Linked DNA regions of Homo sapiens: regions 1, 2 and 3 are each linked to region 4. Evidence: promoter capture Hi-C in 16 types of primary human blood cells and fetal thymus (Javierre and others, 2016). All regions are on one chromosome and are shown on one strand. Each heading gives the region's core, a stretch centred on a gene start or on the middle of the fragment in contact. The rest is flanking DNA. Distances are from core to core; before and after follow the strand shown. Region 1 has its middle 30 kb from the start of CD1D. Region 2 overlaps LOC107985213 (a long non-coding RNA gene). Region 3 has its middle 29 kb from the start of OR10R2. Region 4 holds the start of CD1E (CD1e molecule).

Evidence for each region. The method cuts DNA at HindIII sites, captures the fragments that hold promoters and counts their contacts. A CHiCAGO score of 5 or more calls a contact.
Region 1: a contact is called between a fragment that was not itself captured here and the fragment with the promoter of CD1E in region 4, in 1 of 17 cell types (fetal thymus). The highest score is 6.6, in fetal thymus.
Region 2: a contact is called between a fragment that was not itself captured here and the fragment with the promoter of CD1E in region 4, in 1 of 17 cell types (fetal thymus). The highest score is 9.0, in fetal thymus.
Region 3: a fragment that was not itself captured here is called in contact with the fragment with the promoter of CD1E in region 4 in 1 of 17 cell types (fetal thymus); the score reaches 5.8 in fetal thymus.

The regions. Positions count from the first base shown.
Region 1 is chr1:158,207,878-158,212,982 of GRCh38, reverse strand. No RefSeq gene overlaps it. Among named protein-coding and RNA genes, the nearest start is that of CD1D, 30 kb to the right of the region's middle. RefSeq lists an enhancer at 308-858. The HindIII fragment of the contact is 2,234 bases long and covers 2,151-4,384 here.
Region 2 is chr1:158,482,160-158,487,986 of GRCh38, reverse strand. All of the region lies in intron 2 of LOC107985213 (a long non-coding RNA gene), which reads left to right. Among named protein-coding and RNA genes, the nearest start is that of OR10R2, 13 kb to the right of the region's middle. The HindIII fragment of the contact is 1,988 bases long and covers 2,687-4,674 here.
Region 3 is chr1:158,498,230-158,503,718 of GRCh38, reverse strand. No RefSeq gene overlaps it. Among named protein-coding and RNA genes, the nearest start is that of OR10R2, 29 kb to the right of the region's middle. The HindIII fragment of the contact is 6,418 bases long and covers 1-5,489 here.
Region 4 is chr1:158,351,346-158,356,575 of GRCh38, reverse strand. CD1E (CD1e molecule) reads right to left here and starts at 2,682. Exons shown (of 6, transcript NM_030893.4): 1 at 2,530-2,682; 2 at 1,903-2,199; 3 at 1,007-1,276; 4 at 471-749; 5 at 1-78. The coding sequence starts at 2,587. The HindIII fragment of the contact is 6,143 bases long and covers 1,932-5,230 here.

The DNA of each region.
Region 1 (5,105 bases), core at 2,018-4,517, 140 kb after region 4:
CAGGCGGCTGGTGTGTCAGGGCTGCCTGAGCATGTACACCATTGGCCAGGCTGTGACAGTGCCTCGGCTCAGCGCCACACTGCTCTTAGATCAGAGCAGGCACTGACAGCAGGGAAAACGCAGGCAGGAGGAGCAGGCACTTCTGAGCCTGCAAGGGCTGGGGGACCTTCCCAGGCCTCCAAGAGTGCAGAGATGCCTGGGTCCACAGCTGCAGTTTGGGAAGCTGCAGCCAGGCCCAGGAGGGCAGGGCTGTTGCCTGCTCCTGGCTTCTGCTGGCTCTGTGGAGTGCTACATCACTCCAGATCCAGCTCCACCTCGGGGCTCCTCTCTGCCTGCTCCTCTGTAGCCAATCAAGTTGCTCCCCCGCTGGTGGGTAACCCAGCCCAGTCCCATGGCAGCGGCTCCCAGGGCAGAGGGCTCCATGGGAGGATCCTAGGGGCGGGCCCCAGGGACTGTCTGCCTCCTCCCCATGCCCTCCCCGCAGCAGTGGTGGGCGAGAACAGTGAGGCGGAGCCAGGATCCAGAGCGGCAGAGGCTCCGGGCCTGGGAGCAGGTCCCACCTGGCTGCACAAGGATGGGGGTGGCACAGTTGGCTATCACGGGGATACAGGCACAGAGAACCCACCACCACCATTGCTGCTCCTGCAGCCCCTCTTGCTGCCACCAATCATGCCTTCCCACTGCAGCTGGCATGATGGCAGTGGCCACTCCAGGCAGCCCTCCACTGCCATCAAAAGGATATCAAAATGACTTTCCATAAGTAACATATTGCTAGCCACTCAGAGGCACAGCCAAAATCAGCTCATCAAAAATTTGAGGATAAATGTGATATATCACATAAACAAAATTAAAAACAAAAATCATATGATCACCTCAACAGACGCAGAAAAGGCATTTGACAAAATCCAGTATGCCTTTATGATTAAAAACCTTTGACAAAACTGGCATGTAAGGGACATAAAGTAATAAAAGCCATCTATGACAAGCCCACAGCCAACATCATACTGAATGGGGAAAAGTTGAAAGCATTCCCCTTGAGAACTGGAACAAGACAAGGATGCCCACTTTCACCACTTCTATTCTACATAGCACTCAAAGTCCTAGCCAGAGCAATCACATGAGAGAAAGAAATAAAGGGCATCCAAAACAGAAAGAGAAAGTCAAGCTGTCACTATTTGCCAATTATATGATCATAGACCTAGAAAATACTAAAGACTCATCAAAAAACTTCTAGATCTGATAAATGAATACACTATTGTCTCAGAATACAAAATCAATGTACACAAATCAGTAGCACTGTTATATACCAACAATGACCAAGCTGAGAATCAACTAAAAAATTCAATCCCTTTTACGACAGCTACAAAAAATAAAATAAAATACTTAGAAATATGTTTAGCCAAGGAGGTGAAAGATCTCTGCAAGGAAGACTACAAAATGCTGCTGAAAGAAATCACAAATGACACAGACAAATGGTAACACATCCCAGGCTCATGAATGGGTAGAATCAATATTGTGAAAATGACCAAACTGCCAAAAGCAATCTACAGATTCAATGTAATTCCCATCAAAGTACCATCACCCCTCTTCACAGAACTAGAAAAAAAAATCCTAAAATTCATATGGAACTAAAAATAAGCCTGCATAGCCAAAGCAATACTAAGCAAAAAGAACAAATTTGGGGCCATAACATTACCTGACTTCAAATTACACTACAATACTATAACTATAGTTACCAAAAAAGCATGGTATCAGTATAAAAATAGGCATGTAGACCAATGGCGCAGAATAGAGAACCCAGAAATAAAGCCAAATACTTACTACCAACTGATCTTTGACAAAGCATACAAAATCACAAAGTAGGGAAAGGACATCCTATTGAAGAAATGGTGCTAAGATAACTGGCAAGCCACATGTAGAAGAATAAAATTGGATCCTCATCTCTCACCTTATACAAAAATCAACTCAAGACGGATCAAAGACTTAAATAGAAGACCTGAAAACATAAAAACTCTATAAGATAAAATCAGAAAAACTCTAAAAGATAAAATCAGACATCGGCTTAAGCAAAGAATTCATGACTAAGAAGCTAAAATCAAATGCAACAAAAACAATAATAAATAGAAGGGATATAATTAAGCCAAAAAGCTTCTGCACAACAAAAGAAATAATCAGCAGAGTAAACAGACAACCCACAAAGTGGGAGAAAATATTCATAGATTATGCAGCTGACAAAGGACTAATACCCAGAATCTACAAGGAATGCAAACAAATCAGCAAGAAAGAAAACAAATAATCCCATCAAAAAGTGGGCAATGGACATGAATAGACAATTATCAGAAGAAGATATAAAAACAGCCAATAAACATATGAAAAAATACTCAACATCACCAATGATCAGGGAAATGCAAATTAAAACCATAATAAGATACCACCTTACTCCTGCAAGAATGGCCATAATTTTAAAATAAAAAAAAATTAGATGTCAGCATGGATGTGTTGAAAACGGTACACTTTTACACTGCTGGTGGAAATGTAAATTAGTACAACCACTATTGGAAAACAGTATGGAGATTTCTTAAAGAACTAAAAGTAGAAACACCATTCAATCCAGCAATCCCACTACTGGGTATCTGCCCAAAGGAAAAGAAGTCATTATAGAAAAAAGACACGTACATGAACAGGTTTATAGCAGCACAATTCTCAATTGAAAAAACATGGAATCAACCTAAATACCCATCAACCAACAAGTAGATAAAGAAAATGTGGTATATATGCACCATGGAGTACTACTCAGCCATAAAATGAAATGATATAATGGCCTTTGCACGAACCTTGATGGAGTTGGAGACCATTATTCTAAGTGAAGTAACTCAGGAATGAAAAACCAAACATTGTGTGTTCTCACTTATAAGTGGGAGCTAAGCTATGAGGATGCAAAGGCATAAGAATGATATGATGGACTTTGGGAACTTGAGGGGAAGGGTGGGAACAGGCTGAGAGATAAAAGACTACATAATGAGTACAGTGTACACTGTTCAGGTGACAAGTGCACCAAAATCTCAGAAATCACCATTAAAGAATTTATTCATGTAACCAAAAACCACCTATTACCCAAAAACTATTGAAATAAAATAAGATAAAATTTGAGGATATTTGATGAGAGTTACAGAAAAACTAGAAAGGAAAAACAAAATGAAAATATATGAGAATATAAAGATGTATGAATTTACAAGGACCAAAACTCTATTCTTAATGGAATATATGTCTTAGCTAGTACAGCAGATTTCTCTTTCTTTTCTTTGCCTCCACTCTACTGACAAATTCCCATATGAAAGGTCAAGAACCAAAGTTCAATATGTTTGGTCACACAAATTCCGAATTCTTCCACTAAACCATCTCTCTCCCTCTCCCTCTCACTTTCTACCTTCTTCATTCGCTTTCCTTTTCACATATGAATTCCAGTTTTCATCCACAATGAAGCAGCAGGTACCTGTATATAAATACCCATCATTGGATAGGGATGAGAAATTCACGTTTCTTTGGATGCATGAGCACAACAATCACTGAAGCCATCATAAAGCCCAATGTCATATTTCCCCTTAATTGAGAGGACAAAATATATATCTCTTTAAAGACTCAAACCACAAGAGTTTAGTATCACATGGCTAAGAAAAAGGAGAATTTAAAAGCTACAGAAAAGATAAAAATAGTTGCTTTTAAAACTAAAGGATTTTTTGGCCACCAATTACTCCTATAAAGTTTATGCAGAATTCTGCTTACAGCCATGATGAACTAATTAGACCTGGACTTAACTTCCCACTATAAACAACTAGGAAATGGCAAAAAATATGAAACAACTGGTTTCAGATATTAACCATGATCCATTAGCGAATAGAAACAAACAAAATCAGCCATGTGACAGCTGTAGTTCAATGCACAGATGCACTTTCCAGACTACTATGTTGGAGGACAAAGAGTCTCAAAGAGAGCATGACATGCATGCTGAGTTAAGGAGATAGAGAGGGAGTTTGGGGAGGCTGTGGTGGCTGTCATTTGTAAAACAATGTACTAGAAAAGGGGCACTTAGGTACACAAAGACTGCATAGGACTTCCCTTGAGTCTGTTGACAAATACAAAGCTGTCCACACATACTACAAAATTTCACAAGGCATGGCAAAGAATGACTAAGGTTTCATGAGCTGTAAAATCAAAATCCCCTGAACTCACACAGAGTAGGAAAATTTTTGAATTCTGAATAATTAGAATGGGGAGTCTTAGTGGAATAGCCAGGGCATTCAATAATAACTCCAAGATCATAATGACTTGTAATATGATGACATAGCCTCAAAATAGACTATTTTACACCTACCCTAATAAAGCTTCAAAACAAGCCTTGTAAAGCTCAATCTGATCCTTAAATAATTTAACAGCATGCCATAACAAAGTCCAACACTTTAAAATAAGAAAACAAAATCTTGAGCTTAACAACACAAAATTCATAATGTTTAGCATCAAATCTCAAATTGCTAGACATTACAACCAACCAGAAAACCATTAACAAAATGGCAGCAATAAGTCTTAACCTACCAATAATAACTTTGAATGTAAGTAGATCCAATTTCCCATTTAAAACATATAGACTGGCTTAGTGGATTAAAAAAAAAAAAAACTACCCAACAATATGTTTCCTAGAAGGGATTTGCTTCACCTTAAAGGACACTTATAGACTGAAAGTAAAGGGATGAAAAAAGATATTCCATGCAAATGGAAATCACAGGACAGCATAAGTAGCTATACTTATTTTGGCCAAAATAGACCTTAGGTAACAAAAAAACTATGAAGAGAGACAAAGAAGGTCATTATAGAGTGATAAAGGGATTGATTCACCTTAAGGATATAACAATTGTAAATATATATGCACCCAACATTGGAGCAACTAAATGTGTAAAGCAAACATTAATAGATTTAAAAGGAGACACAGACTGCAACACAATAGTAGTGGAAGATTTCAATAACCCACTTTCAACAATAGCCATACCATCCAGACATAAAACAATAATAAGGAAACACTGGACTTGAACTACACTTTAGACCAAATAGAC
Region 2 (5,827 bases), core at 2,431-4,930, 130 kb before region 4:
AGAGAGAGAGCGATCTCAGCCTCCAATATCATTTCCTCTTCATGTATGGCCCACTCATTCCTCACATTTTTTGAGTCATCAATTATTGAACTTTCTCCAATATGTCTAGGGAGGGTGTGCTGTTCCCTTCTTAGTAATCTAAAGCTTGTCTAGTATGTCTTCATCAAAATACTCAACATGTTATATCTAATTTTTTTTTCCTATTGGTCTCTCCAATAGATTTAAGAGTCCCAAGGATAAATGCCTCATCTTATTCCCTTTGTATCCTCAACTTTATCCAATATTTAAATAAATGAGATATGGATACTTGATGAAAAAATAAATGTCTATTAATGAATTAATAATAATTCCAATTAGTTTATTTTGTAGTAACTTGGTTTCCCTAAGAGGCACTACCATGTGCCTCTTAAGTGAGAAACACTTCTGTCTTCCTTATACATTCTATGTTTACTGTAAATTTTTTATTCTTTCTTTCCAAAACTAATACTACCTCCACCCTATGAAATAATCAAGACTTAGCCTGAGTCTCTGCCTTTGTCTTGGCCTTGGTCTCAATTTTTATCCTTATTTTCTTCACTATTCAGCTTTGCTTTCTGTCATTTGGTCACAATTTCTATTTTTCATTACTAATAACTAGGGATAAACAGATCACTAGCTCATGGAAAAACTCAACAATTTTTAAATTTGACATACAAATAAATGACTGTCACTGGTCTTCTTAATAAAAAAATCAAGGTCTCTAAATAAAAATTAAAATTTTACATTTCTTCAAATCAGAGTTCTAGTGCCTTGTAACCTGCCAGTTAATTCATTCTCAGGCATTTCCTAGAAACTTCTGTAAAGGGTTTCTAAGTGAAATTTGCCAAAATTGCCTTCCCTGTCATGATGCCTCAGGGTTCTTCTTCATCTTTCAGGAACTCCCAAGACCAAAATAAGAAAATAGCATTACTCCAGAGAAAAATGTTACCTGTGCCCTGTCTCCATGGGTGCTTTAGGTAGTGCCTCAATGGGTGTCATCAATGGCCTTTCCTTTTTACATTAGCCATGGTCTCAATGCCTTGGTTGGTAAGTGAGCTCGCCATCTCCACAGGGAGCTAATTACCACATTGTGCCCAATACTTGTCCATAATTTTTCTAATTAGCATGTGGAACCATGATAATACACTATGAGAATTCATTGGCCAAAGAAAAAGCCCTATTATTCATGGGGATTAGTTGACTTCCTCTTGGAAATTCTCTAAGGAGTCAGAGATGTGGAGATTCTCCAGGCAACATTTGTTAAAATATACATCAATGAAACTATCTCCTTTGAATTTCCCTACATAGTGCCTCTAGAGTTTCGTTCTGAAGTTGAAGAAAAGTATTCTTTTTTATGCTGCTACACATTCCTATTTCTGAAAGCTAAAAGAGAAGAAGATATAAAGAATAGAGGACAGAATATTAGAATGGCAGAATCTTTCAGATACATTAGAAACAGGTTTGCTTCTGGAATATAATGTGAATTTGGTAAATATTTCCTCAGTATATGAATACAGTTTGGGTTATAGAGAAAAGTGTGACAATGCCTTCATGTAGGTTTTCACAAAGCCCATCAGCTTTCTCCCCATTTCAGCTCACATATCGATTCTTTCTGACAGTGAGTCCATCCACTTGGGCTGGAAATGGGTCAAATGCTAGACATGCATGGACGTCTCTCTAAGGTGCTCACGTGAACTGCTCTCGTATAAGTCATGTCCCGCATGTTCTCACTTATAAGTCAGAGCTGAACAATGAGAATACATGGACACAGGGAGGGAAATAACACATACTGGGGCCTATGGTTGAGGGGCAGGGGAAGGGAGAGCATCAGGATAAATAGCTAATGCAGCTGGGCTTAATACCTAGGCGATGAGTTGATAGGTGCAGCACACCACCATGACACATGTTTACCTATGTAACAAACCTGCACATCCTGCACATGGATCCCAGAACTTTAAATTAAATTAATTTTTTTTAAAAAAAGATGCTGCAGCAATGAGAAAACAAGAGAAAAGCCCAAGTGATTAACCCAGACAGGAACTTTTGGTGGCTTCCTCCTTCCCCTGAATCCAGATAGGAAGAGTGACTACTTTGACAAATAAATTATAGTAAATGTAAGACTGTATCCGTTTATTAACCCTAGTCTCTAAAGTCTTGTAGCTGCTACTTATGGAGTGTTGAATCATCTACTTTTGTACCCTAGTAACCATGTTTTGAGGAAGCCCAAACAGCCCTTGGAGAATCTATATGGTAAAAAACCAAGGCTCCTGGCCAATAGCCCCAGCTGAGCAAACAACCAATAGCTAACACGAATAAAACAGGCACATAAGTGAGCAATCTTGAAAGTAAATCCTTCAGCCCCAATTGAATCATCCAACCTGCTGGGACAAAGAACAAATTCCAGCTGTCCCCACTGAGCCCTGCCAAAATTGCAGACTTGTGTGCAAAATAATTACAGCTCATTTAAGCAACTAAAGTTGTAGAGAGTTGATTATGCAGCAGTAAATAATGAGAACAGAATTTGGTATCTAAAGGCAGGGTGCTGTTATAATCAACATTTAAAACATTTGGCATTAATTTTGCAATTGGTGGTATAAATAATCCATAAGGACTTAAGGAGTCTCTTACTAAAAGGTGAAAGGATCATAAGGCAACTCTTGGTAAAGCTTTGAAGCACAGAGAGAAAAATATTTGAAGGACAGAGAGGAAACTGTTATCATACTTAGGTAAAACATGGATACTTATTATCCATTGCTCTAAAGTTTGGCAGCAGGACCACATGCTACAGCCTGGAAAATAGACTATTTAGTAATCTCATTATCTTCCTGGGTAAATTTCTAGGAAGACTATAGAAAATTCCAACCAATGATAAAATATGAAAAGAGAGTAGACAGCAGGATACTAGAGGAAGGGAATAGTAGAGAAAAGGGAAGGATAGGTGGAGATTTGCTAAAGGATACAAAATTACAGCTAGATAAAGGAATAAGTTACAGTGTTCTTTGCTACTGTAGGATGACTATAGTTAACAGTAATGTATAGATTCAAATTGCCAGAAGGAGGGTGTTGAACATTCCCAACATGAAGAAATGATAAATGTTTGAGATGATGATATGCTAATTACCTTGATCTGATCCCTATAACATTATTTATATCAGAATATTACTATGCACCTAAGGAATATGAACAATGACTATTTGTCAATTTAAAAGTACATAATTTTTTAAAGTTTCTTAAGTTTCTGAGAATTTAGAGGAAACAGAAAGAAACAAAACTTGTTGGGTTTGCAAATAAAGATGTTTCTCATGCACAGTCTCTCTCAACAAAGACTCTCAAGGTACAAAATGGCTTCAAGGAAGAAATCAAATCCAAGGTGCTATCAGGAAACCAATGCCTCAGGGTAAACCTCTTAAGAATGTAGCTGTAATACTTTTTGTTAGAACTCAGAAATATTTTAGGCTATACCCAACAAGATTTATAAATATCCTAAGGGCCTGACTCCTTAAAGTTAAGCAATAAGTCTTTTTAAGAATCTTAAGGGAATTGCCATACAGCAGTTATTAATACTGCTACCTCACAAGTGACCCATAATAAAGAAATGAATATGGATGTGACTTTTATCTAATGGAATTAATTTATAAACTGAAACATAAGAAACTCACCAAGTTTTAAAAAGGCATTCTATCAACATGTGCTAAAGGCTACAGAGCAAACAGAAATGAATAGACCTTTGGACCCTCAACTTCTTCCATGGAGGTATCAGACTAAGAAATGACATGTCTGCAAATTGTAGCTATGTCTTGCAGATAAAAAAGGATGATCAGAAAGTGGGGAAATGGCATCACAGGTTAGATCTAAGAGTCATGGAATTCATTCCCAGAAAATAGGACTGGCAACAGTGTCCAGATGAATTTCAGAATTTCTATGGACCAATGACTGTGATGTGTCTAATTTCCTCCTTTTTCACAAGGGAATGTCCATTGCTATTCCTATGCCCATCACATCATTGTCTTTTTGGGTGTCAGGAGCAGACAACCTGCTGGTATTATGCCTTAAAAGACTAGCAGCTTCCTCTTTCTGTTTCTTGGAATGTTTAGTCTTTGAAACCAGTCATGATGTTGTGAGAAAGTTTATAGAACCCCATGAAAAGGGCCACATGGAGAGATACTGACTCTCACAACCTATAGCCCTGACTCAGCTCCACTACAAATCAGCATCATTTTGCCAGCCGTGTAAATGAGCCAAATGGAAGTGGGTCCCTCAATTCTAGTTGAGCAGCTCAGTTGACATTGTATGGAGTTAAGACAAGCCAATCTTATAAGCCCTCTCCCATTTAAGAGATTAATGAGCAAAATAAATTATCATTGTCATTGTTATTTTTAATTACTGTTATGGGGGACATAAATATTGCTACACTTTCACATGTAGTTTCAGATGTTTTTCTTAGCTAGACCAAGAAGTCATTTATTCAATTAAAGTTAAGAGACATGTATTAGTTATCTCCTGAATGTCAGGGATATAAAAGACATTTAGGAGGAGTTAATGTATCGGTATAATAAATTACTTCCTTTCACGTTGTTGATTGTCCATTAGAGAAAATAAGATATGTACATAATCAGCTCAATATGTCAGAGCTCAGTAAGAAGTATAAGTAAAGCTTACAATGCTATGGTGTTTTGAAGAATGGAAATCAGGTAATACTTCATGAAACAGGTGAAAATAAAAAAAACTTTGATGGTAGACATTGGACAAAGAAGGAGATAATCTTTTCAAATAAGACCTTTTTTGATTCTTAGGCCGGTACAGGACCATTCTCCATAGGATCCCACTTTATAAGCTGTAAGTAAAGAAATGTGGTGCACAGAATGGCAAATTTATGTTTATCTTCTACTGCCTTTTTAATTAATGATGGCTATAGTATGATGATGGCAAACAAGGCCATTTTGTCACTGCAAATTATTTTCCTGTAGAAGTATTATTCTACTGTTTATTATTATAATATCTTTTAAACATAATTTTAACTCTTTCTTGTTTCTACTAATAAAAAAAGGAATTCAAGAGACCTATATGCCAGGATGGTAGGAAACTAGAGCCATATAGTAAGATAGAAAAAAATGTTTTGAATCACATTCATGTCGGCATGCTGCAGAAAATATTCTATACATTAGTGTTGGACACAAAAATCAGCTACTTTTCATGAAAGTTGATCAAGATGTTAAGTGTAGTTTATTTCTGAAACTTCCTGCTTACTTTTCATTTCTTTTCACAGTATAGAATTTAGTTTTCCTAATGTATACATATTCTGTATTTAAAAACCTCAAATGTTAGACTGCACAGTACCTTCTCCTAAATTTTTAACGAATGTGACATAAAATAGCAATACTCTAGTTAATTGAATATGCTATCTTGACCAGGATAGTTTCTCTGCCTACCTTGCGGTAAATTTTTCTGAAATTTGATATTAAAAAGGAAATTAAATCCATTAAAGGGATCTAGAAGATAGCAGCAGGGATGTCTATTAATCTATCCTGCTGTTATAATAAAATTATAAAACATGTAAACTCTGTGACATGATGATATAAATAACCTTTCAATCAGGTAAAAAAAAGTTACAACAAATTGTTAAAAGTAAAAAAGAAAAGGTGAAATGATGAAAGCAAATTTAAATAGATTATATGACTTTGGCCATGAACAAGTACTCCCATGAATTGGATTTAGGGATGGACTTTGTATACTATGTAAACTCCTCAGATTGTAAGCAAGTTTTTTTTTTCCTGTATATGTGCATGAGGAGAGTTTCATGCATTAGATA
Region 3 (5,489 bases), core at 1,444-3,943, 150 kb before region 4:
TCTGCAGGGAGGGAAGTCCAAGCTGAACTACTCACAGATTCAGCATCTAATAAGGGGGATTGCTTCAGGATTTCAGATAGTTGGGGTCTAATTATATCCTCACATGGTGAAGAACAGAGAAAGAGCAACAAGTTCTTTCTTGCCTAAGATTACTAATCAAATTCAATAATATTCCATTGTAAGTATATACTACATTTTCTTAATCCATTAATCTGTTCATGGACATTTAGTTTATTTTTTTCTTGGCTATTGTGAATAATGTTATAATAAACATGAGATTGTTAACATCACTTTAAAATCCCAATTTTAATTATTTTGAATATATGCCCAGAATAGAAATTGATACAGTATTAGTCAAACTCATAGAAACAGAGAGTAGAACAGTGGTTGCCAGTCTGCAGGGGAGGAGAAAATGTGAGTTCCATTTTGTTGAATATAAGTTTCAGTTATATAAGATAAACAAATTCTAGAAACCAACTGTACAACATTGTGATTTGATATAGTCTGAATATTTGTTTCCACCTAAATCTCATGTTGAATTATAAATCCCCAATGCTGGAAGTGGGACCTGGTGGGAGGTGTTTGGATCATGGGGATGAGTCCCTCATAGCTTGGTACTTTCTTTGTGATAGTGAGGTGAGTTCTCAAAAGATATGGTCAGTTTAAAGTGTTGCACTTTCCCTTCCACTCTGTCTCTCTCTTGCTCCTGCTCTGGCCAAGTGATGTGCCTGCTCCCACTACCTTTTGCCATGATTGAAAGCTCCTTGAGGCTTTACCAGAAGCTAAGCAGTTGCCAGCACCATGCTTTCTGTAAAGTTTGCAGAACCATGGGCCAATTAAACCTCTTTTCTTTATAAATTACCCAGTCTCAGGTATTTCTTTATAGCAAGGCAAGAATGGGATAACACAAGAAATTGGTACAGAGGAGTGGGGTATTACAATAAAGATATCTGAAAGTGTAGAAGCAGCTTTGGAACTGGGTAATGGGCATAGAATGGAAGAGTTTGAGGGCTCAAAAGAAGACGGAAGTTGAGGTTTAGTTTAGAACTTCTTAGAGACTGGTAAAATGGTTGTAACCCAAATGCTGACGTGTGATATAGACAGTGAAGTCCAGACTGAGGAGGCCTCAGATGGAAATGAGGAACATACTGGGAACTGAAGTAAAGGTCACTTTTGATATGCCTTAGCAAAGAACTTGGCTGCCTTCTGTTCATGCCCTAGGGATCTGCGGAAGTTAAAGTTTTGAAATGATAATTTAGGGTATCTGATGAAGGAAATTTCTAAGCAGCCAAGCATTCAAGATGTGGCCTGGCTGCTTCTAACAACCTAACTCAGATGTGGGCACAAAGGAATACCTTAAAGCTGAAACTTATATTTAAAAGGAAAGTAGAGAATAAAAGTTTGAGAAATCTGCAGCCTGGCAATGTGGCAAAGGAAGAAAAAGCTCTTGAGGGGAGAAGAATTCAAGCAGGTTGTGGAACAACCACTTTACTAAAGAAATTTGCATACTTAAGTGGGTCAGGCGTGGTGGCTCACGCCTGTAATCCCAGCACTTTGGGAGGCTGAGGTGGACGGATCACAAGGTCAGTAGATCGAGACTGTCCTGGCTAACATGGTGAAACCCCATCTCTACTAAAAATACAAAAAAAAAATTAGCTGGGTGCGGTGGTGGGCGCCTGTAGTCCCAGCTACTCTGGCTGAGGCGGGAGAATGGCGTGAACCTGGGAGGCATAGCTTGCAGTGAGCCGAGATCATGCCACTGCACTCCAGCCTGGGTGACAGAGCAAGACTCCATCTCAAAAAAAAAAAAAAAAAAAGAAAAAAAAAGAAATTTGCATACCTATGAAGGAGCCAAGTGCTGATAGTCAAGACAATGGGGGAAAAGCCTTGAAGGCATCTCAGAGACCTCTGTGGCAGCCCCTTCCATTAAAGGCCCAGAATCCCTACTGCCACACACACAGCTTCATGACACTGCTCCCTGCATCCTGCTGCTCCAGCTTCAACTGGGGCTCAAAGGGGCCCAGGTACTGCTCAACATGCTACTTTGGAGAGTTCAAGCCACTGTAAGCCTTGGCAATTTGCACATGATTTTAAGCCTGTAGGCACACAGAGTTCAGAGTGAATGAGAATTTGCACCATCTGCCTAGATTTCAGAGGACATATGGAAAAGCCTGAGTGCCCAGACAGAGGCCTGCTGCAGGGGTGGGGAACCCCACAGGGAACCTCTACTATGGCAATGCAGAGGGGAAATGTGGGTTTGCCCCCCGCCCCAGAGTTCCCACTGGGGCACTGCCTAGTGGAGCTGTGAGAAGGGGACCGCCATCCTCCAGACCCCAGAAAGGAAGATCCACTGTCAGCTTGCCCTCTGCACCTGGAAAAGCCAAGAACACTCAACACCAACCCGTGGAAACAGCCATGGGTATTCAACCCTGCAAAGCCATAGGGATACAGCTGCCCTAAGCCTTGAGAGCCATGACTGACACCTCTCTGAGGAGCTTGCAGCAGTGTGACCTGGATGTAGAATATGGAGTCAAAGGATATTATTTTGGAGCTTTAAGATTTAATGACTGCCCTCCTGGCTTTAGGACTTGCTTGGGGCCTATAGCCCCTATTTTTTTGGCCAATTTCTTTCTTTTAGGATAGCAACGTTTACCCAATACCTGTATCCCTATTGTATCTTGGAAGTAAATAACTTGGTTTTGATTTTATAGGTTCATGAATGAAAGGGACTTTCCTTGTCAAAGATGAGACTCTGGACTTCGGACTTGTGAGTTAACACTGGAACAAGTTAAAACTTTGGAGGACTCTTAGGAAGGCATAAATATATTTTGCAATGTGAGAAGGACATAGATTTGGGAGGAGCCGGAGAAATATTGATATAGTTTGGATATTTGTCCCCACACAAATCTTACGTTGAATTGTAATCACCAGTGCTGAAGGTGGGAGGTGTTTCGGTCATGGGGGTGAACTTCGCATGACTTGGTCTATTTTTATGATAGTGAGTAAGTTCTCACAAGATCTTGCCATTTCAAAATTTGCAGCACCTTCCCCCAACTCTCTCTCTCCTGTTCTGGTCATGTGATGTGCCCGCTCCTGCTTCACCTTCCACCATGATTGAAAGTTCCCTGAGCCTTCACCAGAAGCCAAGTGGATGCCAGCACCATGCTTCCTGTAAATTCTGCAAATCATGAGCCAACAAAACCACTTTTCTTTATAAATTACCCAATCTCAGGTATTTCTTTATAGCAATGCAAGAATGGCATAATATATGATTACAGTTACCAATACCTTTTGATCAGGGGGTGGATTCATGTTAAATGTTCTTATCACACACAAAAAAAGTCAGTGTTGACCTAGTTGAAAAACTAGCTTATTTGTGACTCATGCTATATTAAAAAACAACTACTGAATAAATCAAGAGTGCTATTGTTTTTTCTGAGTGAAATTGTAATTGACCTATGTAACCCTTGTTTCAAATGTCCTTGTTAGAATTTTCAGAAAAATTTTAGTGGAGTATATTTTATAAACATCTCCTGACATTAACATAATTCTAGGGCTCATAGGGATGAATAAATCTAAATTCTGTCAAAATTTTAAAAAGAAAGAAAATTAAGAATGTAATTGCCTTTTAGCTCCAAATCTACCTTTACTTGTCCTGATTGTGTTACTGGAATGTTTCTCCTTTACCAGCAGACATGATGTTAAGCTCTTCTGTAGAAGGCGTGAAGGGACACTGAAGTTAAAACGGAGTTCTCTTCCCATTTCTGGCTGCTTTCATCTGCCTGGACATGCTGTGTGTGTGAAGTCTAGTAACAAGTAGGACGCCCAGTAGTGCTACTTCCCAGGCAGTACCATCATCAAAGGTATTTTGCCAGAAGGTTGCAAACAGAAGCATCCTCCCATAGATGCCCCCCACCCACAGAGTACTTCAGAGAGTGGTTTTCCAGCAAGTTCTAAAGTATAGCTCTTCCTTATGGATGGCTTCCCATGAGGACTAAGAGGGCAGAATCCAGAAGGCATTACATTGATTTCAAGAAATGTTTATTAAGCTATACTTTTAGTATTAGTATAAAGATGAACAAATAGATTAATGGAACAAAACAGAACACTCAGAAATAGAAACACATATGTATAATTAATTTTCTACAAAGCCTCAAGGCAATTTAATGGTAGAAGAATACTCTTTCCAATAATAATGCATTTGGATAGAAAAGAATCTTGAAATTTTTTCACACCATTTACAAAAATTAACTAGAGATGAATCACATCCTGCTTGTAAGAACTAATATTATTAAAAAGAACATTAGATAGAACCTTAGTGAGCTTGAATTTTTCAGAAACTTATTAAGTATGACAGAAAACACTTGAACTATAAAAGTCAAAGTCAATAAGTTGGACTTTATCAAAACCAAAGGAAACTTCTGCTCTTCAAAAGACATGGTAGAAAATTAAAAGCAAGTTACAATATAGTGAAAATATTTGCGTAATATACAAGTAACAAAAATATATATACCTGGAAAACATAAAGAACTCTTACATTTCAATTATGAAGACAAAGGAACTAATTAAAATATTGGAAAGAAGAAAATATGCCTCTAACTGAGGAATGGACAAAAGATCTGAAAAGACGCTCAACTAAAAAATATGTAGATGACCAATATACACACAAAAAAATATATTCAGTGTCTTCAGTCATCAAAAAAAACTTTTAATTCTAACCACAATTGGATACTATTATGCATCTACTTAATGTATGAAATTAAGACTAACACATTTTGTTGAGAATGTTAAGCAACTGGTAACTGTCATACGTTTCTGTTGAGAGTGTAAGAAAATAAAACCATTGTGTATATATACACAATGGTACAAAAAGAATGAACTGCGAAGTCACACACATAACGGATAAACCTCAAAAGTATGCTTAGTGATAAGAAGTTAGAAAGCAAATTGTTATTTTATTTTGATAAGATTCTTTATTGTCAAACTAAATTCTGGCAATAGAAAGCAAATCATTGGTTTCCTGCGGCTGATGGTGGTATAGGGGACACAATGGGATGGGGCATGTGAGAAAATTTAGGGGTAATGGAAATGTTCTATATCTTTTTTCATTTTCAATATCATTTTTATAATAAATTGCCTTGAGAGCCTTGTAGAAAATTAACTATACATATGTGTTTCTATTTCTGAATGTTCTGTTTTGTTCCATTAATCTATTTATTCATCTTTATACTAATATAAATGGTATTTTAAAGTGTAGCTTAATAAATATTTCTTGATTTTTTTTAAGTATTTTAAAACAAATACAGGCTGGATATTCTGTTGTACAACTTTTAACGCATTTGAAATCAGCAGAAAAGTTGCTTTGGGTAAGTCTGGGATTAAAGATTTGCCTATATCTGATTTTAATTGAAAAGCATTGCAAGAAGGGATAATATAAAAAATAAATAATTCTCTTTTAACTTGAAATTACTTATCTGTATGAATAAGTA
Region 4 (5,230 bases), core at 1,433-3,932:
GTGAGTCAACTACAACCAATATGACCAGGGTAACTATCACAGTCAAACAGATCAGGATGAGAAAGATGGAATATCCACCTGGTTGGGGATAGAATAAGAATACCAACCCTAAAATACTCTATTCCACCAAGCTGAGATTTCCCATTTCACAAGGGTGGGACCTTCCTAGAATTTTCATCTGGGTTTTCCAAAGCCCTCATTTCAATTCCTCCTGATCCTTTGTCTGTGATCTCCTCCCAACCCTCTCCCACTAAATCACTAGTTCCTCCTCCTTTTTCTGTTAGTATGTCTAATTCTCTACTTCCATTTTCTTAAAATTTAACTACTGTCATACTCTATCCTTCTTTATTTTGATTGTCCCAGTTTTACCCTTCTTGTACCTAGCATTCCTACCCATTTCCTCAGCCCCACACTCAAAAGCCCCAGGGCTATTTTCATTATTTCCCAGCAGAGCCTCAGCTGTTTCTCACCCCAATGGATGATTAGATCATGGCCCCCTAGACTGCTGTGTTTCACCCGACAGGACAGGCCAGCTGCCTCCCCAGCCGCCACATCCAGGGTTGCTCGGAGATACCATGTCTCGTCAGCATTAGGCAGGACGTCCCCTCGCTGAGTGCCCCGCTGCTCCTGCTCACCCCGCATCCACATCACCCACACGGGCTTTGGGTAGAATCCTGAGACATGGCACACAAGCTGCAGACGGCCAGGGCCAGGACTGGGGCCACAGGACAGCCAGGCCTCTGGCTTCACTAGGAAGAAGAAGATAGAAAAAAAATGGAATTTTGAAGGGCACCCCAGGCCAGAGCTCAGAGACTCAGGTGCCTTTGTAATAATACTAAGAGTGATTTAGTAATCACTTCTTTCTCTTGTCTAAGAAACAGTCCTGAACCCACACATCTCATTCTCTAGTCTCTCACTATGTCTTTCAAAATGATGATGAGAGGCAAATTCAAATATGAGAGTTATAGTACTAGGAACAAGAGGGGAGAGAGAGAGTTGGGCTCACCTTTCCGTTTCAGTTCTGACTCCCCTGCTTCCATGAGCCCCGCTAGAAATCGAGGGCAGGTGTGACCAAGAAGGCTTTGCAGTATTTCCTTAATATCTAGGTAGCGATTGAGCACTTTACAGATGTTCTGGGCCCGGATCCCTGCTCCTGGAGATGGCTCCCAGGAAATTCCTTGGAAACTCAGGAAATCTGACCCTTGATATGCCATATTTAAGAAGATTTGTGGGGCATTCATTCTACAGCCAGCTAATATCTGGATCTCGAAGGGGTCTGAGAGTGGACAGGGAAGAGAGATCATTATGGAAAGAATGACAAGGAAGAAAAACAAACAATTTAGACAGTAAAGAGATTCAAGGGAAGAAAAATTTGCTGGGAAATCATATGGAGACTAGAGTTTACTGGCAAAGGGGAAGAAAATTTGTGGGAAGAAAATTTGAAGATAATAAAGATACTTTGAAATAACTAATGGGAAAGTGGTAGATGGGAAGGCTATCAGGAAGATAGGAGATTGGTCATAAATAATTCACGTGAAAGTGGTTAGGTACAGGCCAGTCCATGTCAACACTCAGGCAAAGGATAAAGAAGGGCAGAAAGAGGGTTGAGAAAGGCTGAGTCTGAGGGCAGGAATGAGGGGCAGAAGATCCAGAGGAGACAATCATTCCAAAGAGCCAGACATGAAGCTATATTCATGTTGAGATATGTACATGCAGGCCCTTTTGTGTATATGGTGGAGTGTGGGTGGTGGTGAAGGGTGAAGCAGAGGAGGGAGTGGGAGTCAGAGAGTGGGGAACAAGGTTAGTAAGGTTAAATGATGGTCAGAGTCTATATACTATCTTCCACTTTGGAAAATAGTTGGTGTTCCCAGGCAAATTATCAGCTTAGAGCAACGAACTTACATTCAAGCTGAAATTGACCAGCAGAAGCTTGCACTATCTGGATAAAACTATGGAAGTATAACTGGAACAGTGACTGTAAGTTTTTCAGCTCCTGCTTGCTGAAGTTTCCATGGGACCAGGGCTTCAGAAAGCGGATGGTGCCCAAGACAGTGTCCCAGCCATGAGTCTGCAGGTCACCCAGCCATCCTGAGCCCTCACTGTGTGCCCAGCTGTGGTTGGCAAAGGAGGAAGTTTGGAGCATGCGGAAGGACAGCTGCTCCTCTGCTGCTAGATGATAGGATTGTAGAGCCTGGGGAGCTGAGAGAGAGGGAAATGACAAGTAGAGAGAATGTAAAGGGATGGGAAAAGTGATGCCAAAGGGAAAAAAGGAACCCAGAGATGAGAGACAGTTAGGTAGCTTGTACATACTCCAATACCCTTTTCCTGTGGGGCCAGCTTCCTTTCTCCAAAATCAGAGACAAAAACTGAGACTGAGAGCAAGAATTCTCTGCCTGGAACTAGCCTGAAAGGCATATTCCAAGGGCATCCTAGAAGAGTACTGCTCCCTTCCCCCAGGACCTCCCCAGAGCTTCCTCTCAGCCCTCTGGTGCCCTACCATAGGTATCTTTCCACCTGCACTCTTCTTACCTGCTGTATTTTCCCCAGGACAGCAGAGACCCTCGAAGAGGAGGAACAGGAGCAGCATTGAAGCTCTGTTAAAGGAGGGATTCCTTGGCAGGACACCTGCCCTAATAATTCAGATATCAGTACCCCTCTCCACACCCTCTTGCACTCTCGTCTGACTTCCCTTGCTGTACAGACAGACAAACCTCTCCCTCTGCTGACTTCCCTGTCAGAGAAGCCACACTGCCTCGCTTTGCTGCAGCCTCCCACGGGGTTTTTCATTTCCCCTCTGCCTCTCTCACTGTCTGGCTCCAGATTTTCTCCCTGCTCTTGTGTACATCCTCCCAACCTCCCTAATTGCACTAACTGCTGGAAAACGAGTCCTGGCTTAAAACAAAGTCTGTGGTCTGGCTAGAAGATGGAGTAGCTTTTGGCCTTGTAGAAATCAAATCCATACTTGGCTTGTCAATAATCTAATCTGTGAGAAGTGATGGTAGTCACTCAGTGGTGCCTAGTGACCTATCCACCAGTCTCCCACTTCTACCTCTCTGTGATCCTCTCCTCCGCCTGTATCTCTTCACTCTGCTCTTGATCATGATCAGAAGACACTCAGCATCCTGGATGTAGCTGCATAATAAGCAGGCAACCCTCCATAATCCAACTCTCTGTGCTGCTGAAAAAGGAGCAGCAATGGCAATGCAGATTATCAGAAAATCTAAAGAAAGCTCCTTTTTTTCAGTTTCCCCAGTCAAGCCAACTGTCACTGTTAAAGTGGTCCATGAGTGGGCTTGACCTGGAAGTGGTGAGCTAGAGGGCAGGTAGATTTCACCCATGTTTTACAGGTGGCTCTGGAGGAAATACATAGGGGACTTGGATCCCCATCTCTACCCAAACGAAGAAAGCATGTCTGGAAGTCTGTGGGCCAGCTTTGCCCTGGGTATGAAGAAAGACTGAGGGCAGGCATGAAGCTCCTCATTAGTTCATGGCCTGAGAGCATTGGAGTCCCCTTGCTTGCGTTCGGTTAGAGAGCAGTTTGGGTGGACACAGGGAAGTACCTTTAGAGGACTGAAGTGTTCACTGGAGAATTAATTGAGTCTTTATTTTTGTTTCTTTTTCATTGATATTTGTTGTGACACTCTGAAGGCAGTTGAAATAACATTCCTTTGTTTGGTTTTTATATATTTGTTCAACTGACATTTATTCAGAGCCCACCTATGACCAAAAACAATTGCCAGGCCCTAAGATATCAGAGATAGACATCTTTGGGAAAAAATAAAACAAAATTCAACCCCAAACCTCTACTTTTCTTATACAGTAAATTTACTGAACGGTGGTCAGAATTATTGAAAAAGGTCCAAACCTAGTTTCATCTTATTATCATTTCTAAATTCTAAGTTAAAAGAAAGATAAAAAGTTTCCTTGTTTCCTGAGTAGAATATCTACATTTATTTTCAATACTCTTTCTGTGCTGGAGAGGTGCTGGAGAGGATGTGGAGAAATAGGAACACTTTTACACTGTTGGTGGGACTGTAAACTAGTTCAACCATTGTGGAAGTCAGGGTGGCGATTCCTCAGGGATCTAGAACTAGAAATACCATTTGACCCAGCCATCCCATTACTGGGTATATACACAAAGGATTATAAATCATGTTGCTATAAAGACACATGCACACGTATGTTTATTGTGGCACTATTCACAATAACAAAGACTTGGAACCAACCCAAATGTCCAACAATGATAGACTGGATTAAGAAAATGTGGCACATATACACCATGAAATACTATGCAGCCATAAAAAATGATGAGTTCATGTCCTTTGTAGGGACATGGATGAAGCTGGAAACCATCATTCTCAGCAAACTATCACAAGGACAAAAAACCAAACACCGCATGTTCTCACTCATAGGTGGGAATTGAACAATGAGAACACATGGACACAGGAAGAGGAACATCACACACCGGGGCCTGTTGTGGGGTGGGGGGAGGGGGGAGGGATAGCATTAAGAGATATACCTAATGTAAATGACGAGTTAATGGGTGCAGCACACCAACACGACACATGTATACATATGTAACAAACCTTCACGTTGTGCACATGTACCCTAGAACTTAAAGTATAATAATAAAAAATAAATAAATAAATAAAAATAATTAAAAAAAGAAAAAAAAACTGCAAACAAAAAAACAAAAGAAAAAGGTCCAAACCTAGTTTCATCTTATTATCATTTCTAAATTCTAAGGTTAAAGAAAGATTAAAAAAAGTTTCCTTGTTTCCTGAGTAGAATGTCTACATTTATTTTCAATACTCTTTCTTTTCTACAAATACATTCAAAGCTATAAGTTGCTATGTAAATCTATCTATAAATCGCTATGTAAATCCAAAATTGGTTTCATAATAAAATTATGAACAGTAAACAAAGATAAATATTCAAGAGAATATATAATAACCTACAAAAACAATAATACATAATAAAAAGATTGGAATGACCTATGCCAAACATCAATACTACAAGTAACTGTATTCCTTAGAATTTTTGTTTTGTTTTGTTTTTTCCTGAGACGGAGTCTTGCTGTCTTGCTCTGTTGCCCAGGCTGCAGTGCAGCCACAGGATCTCGGCTCATTGCAACCCCCGAATCCCTGGTTCAAACGACTCTCCTGCCTCAGCCTCCTGAGCAGCTGGGATTACAGGCAAGAGCCACCATGACCATCTATTTTTTGTATTT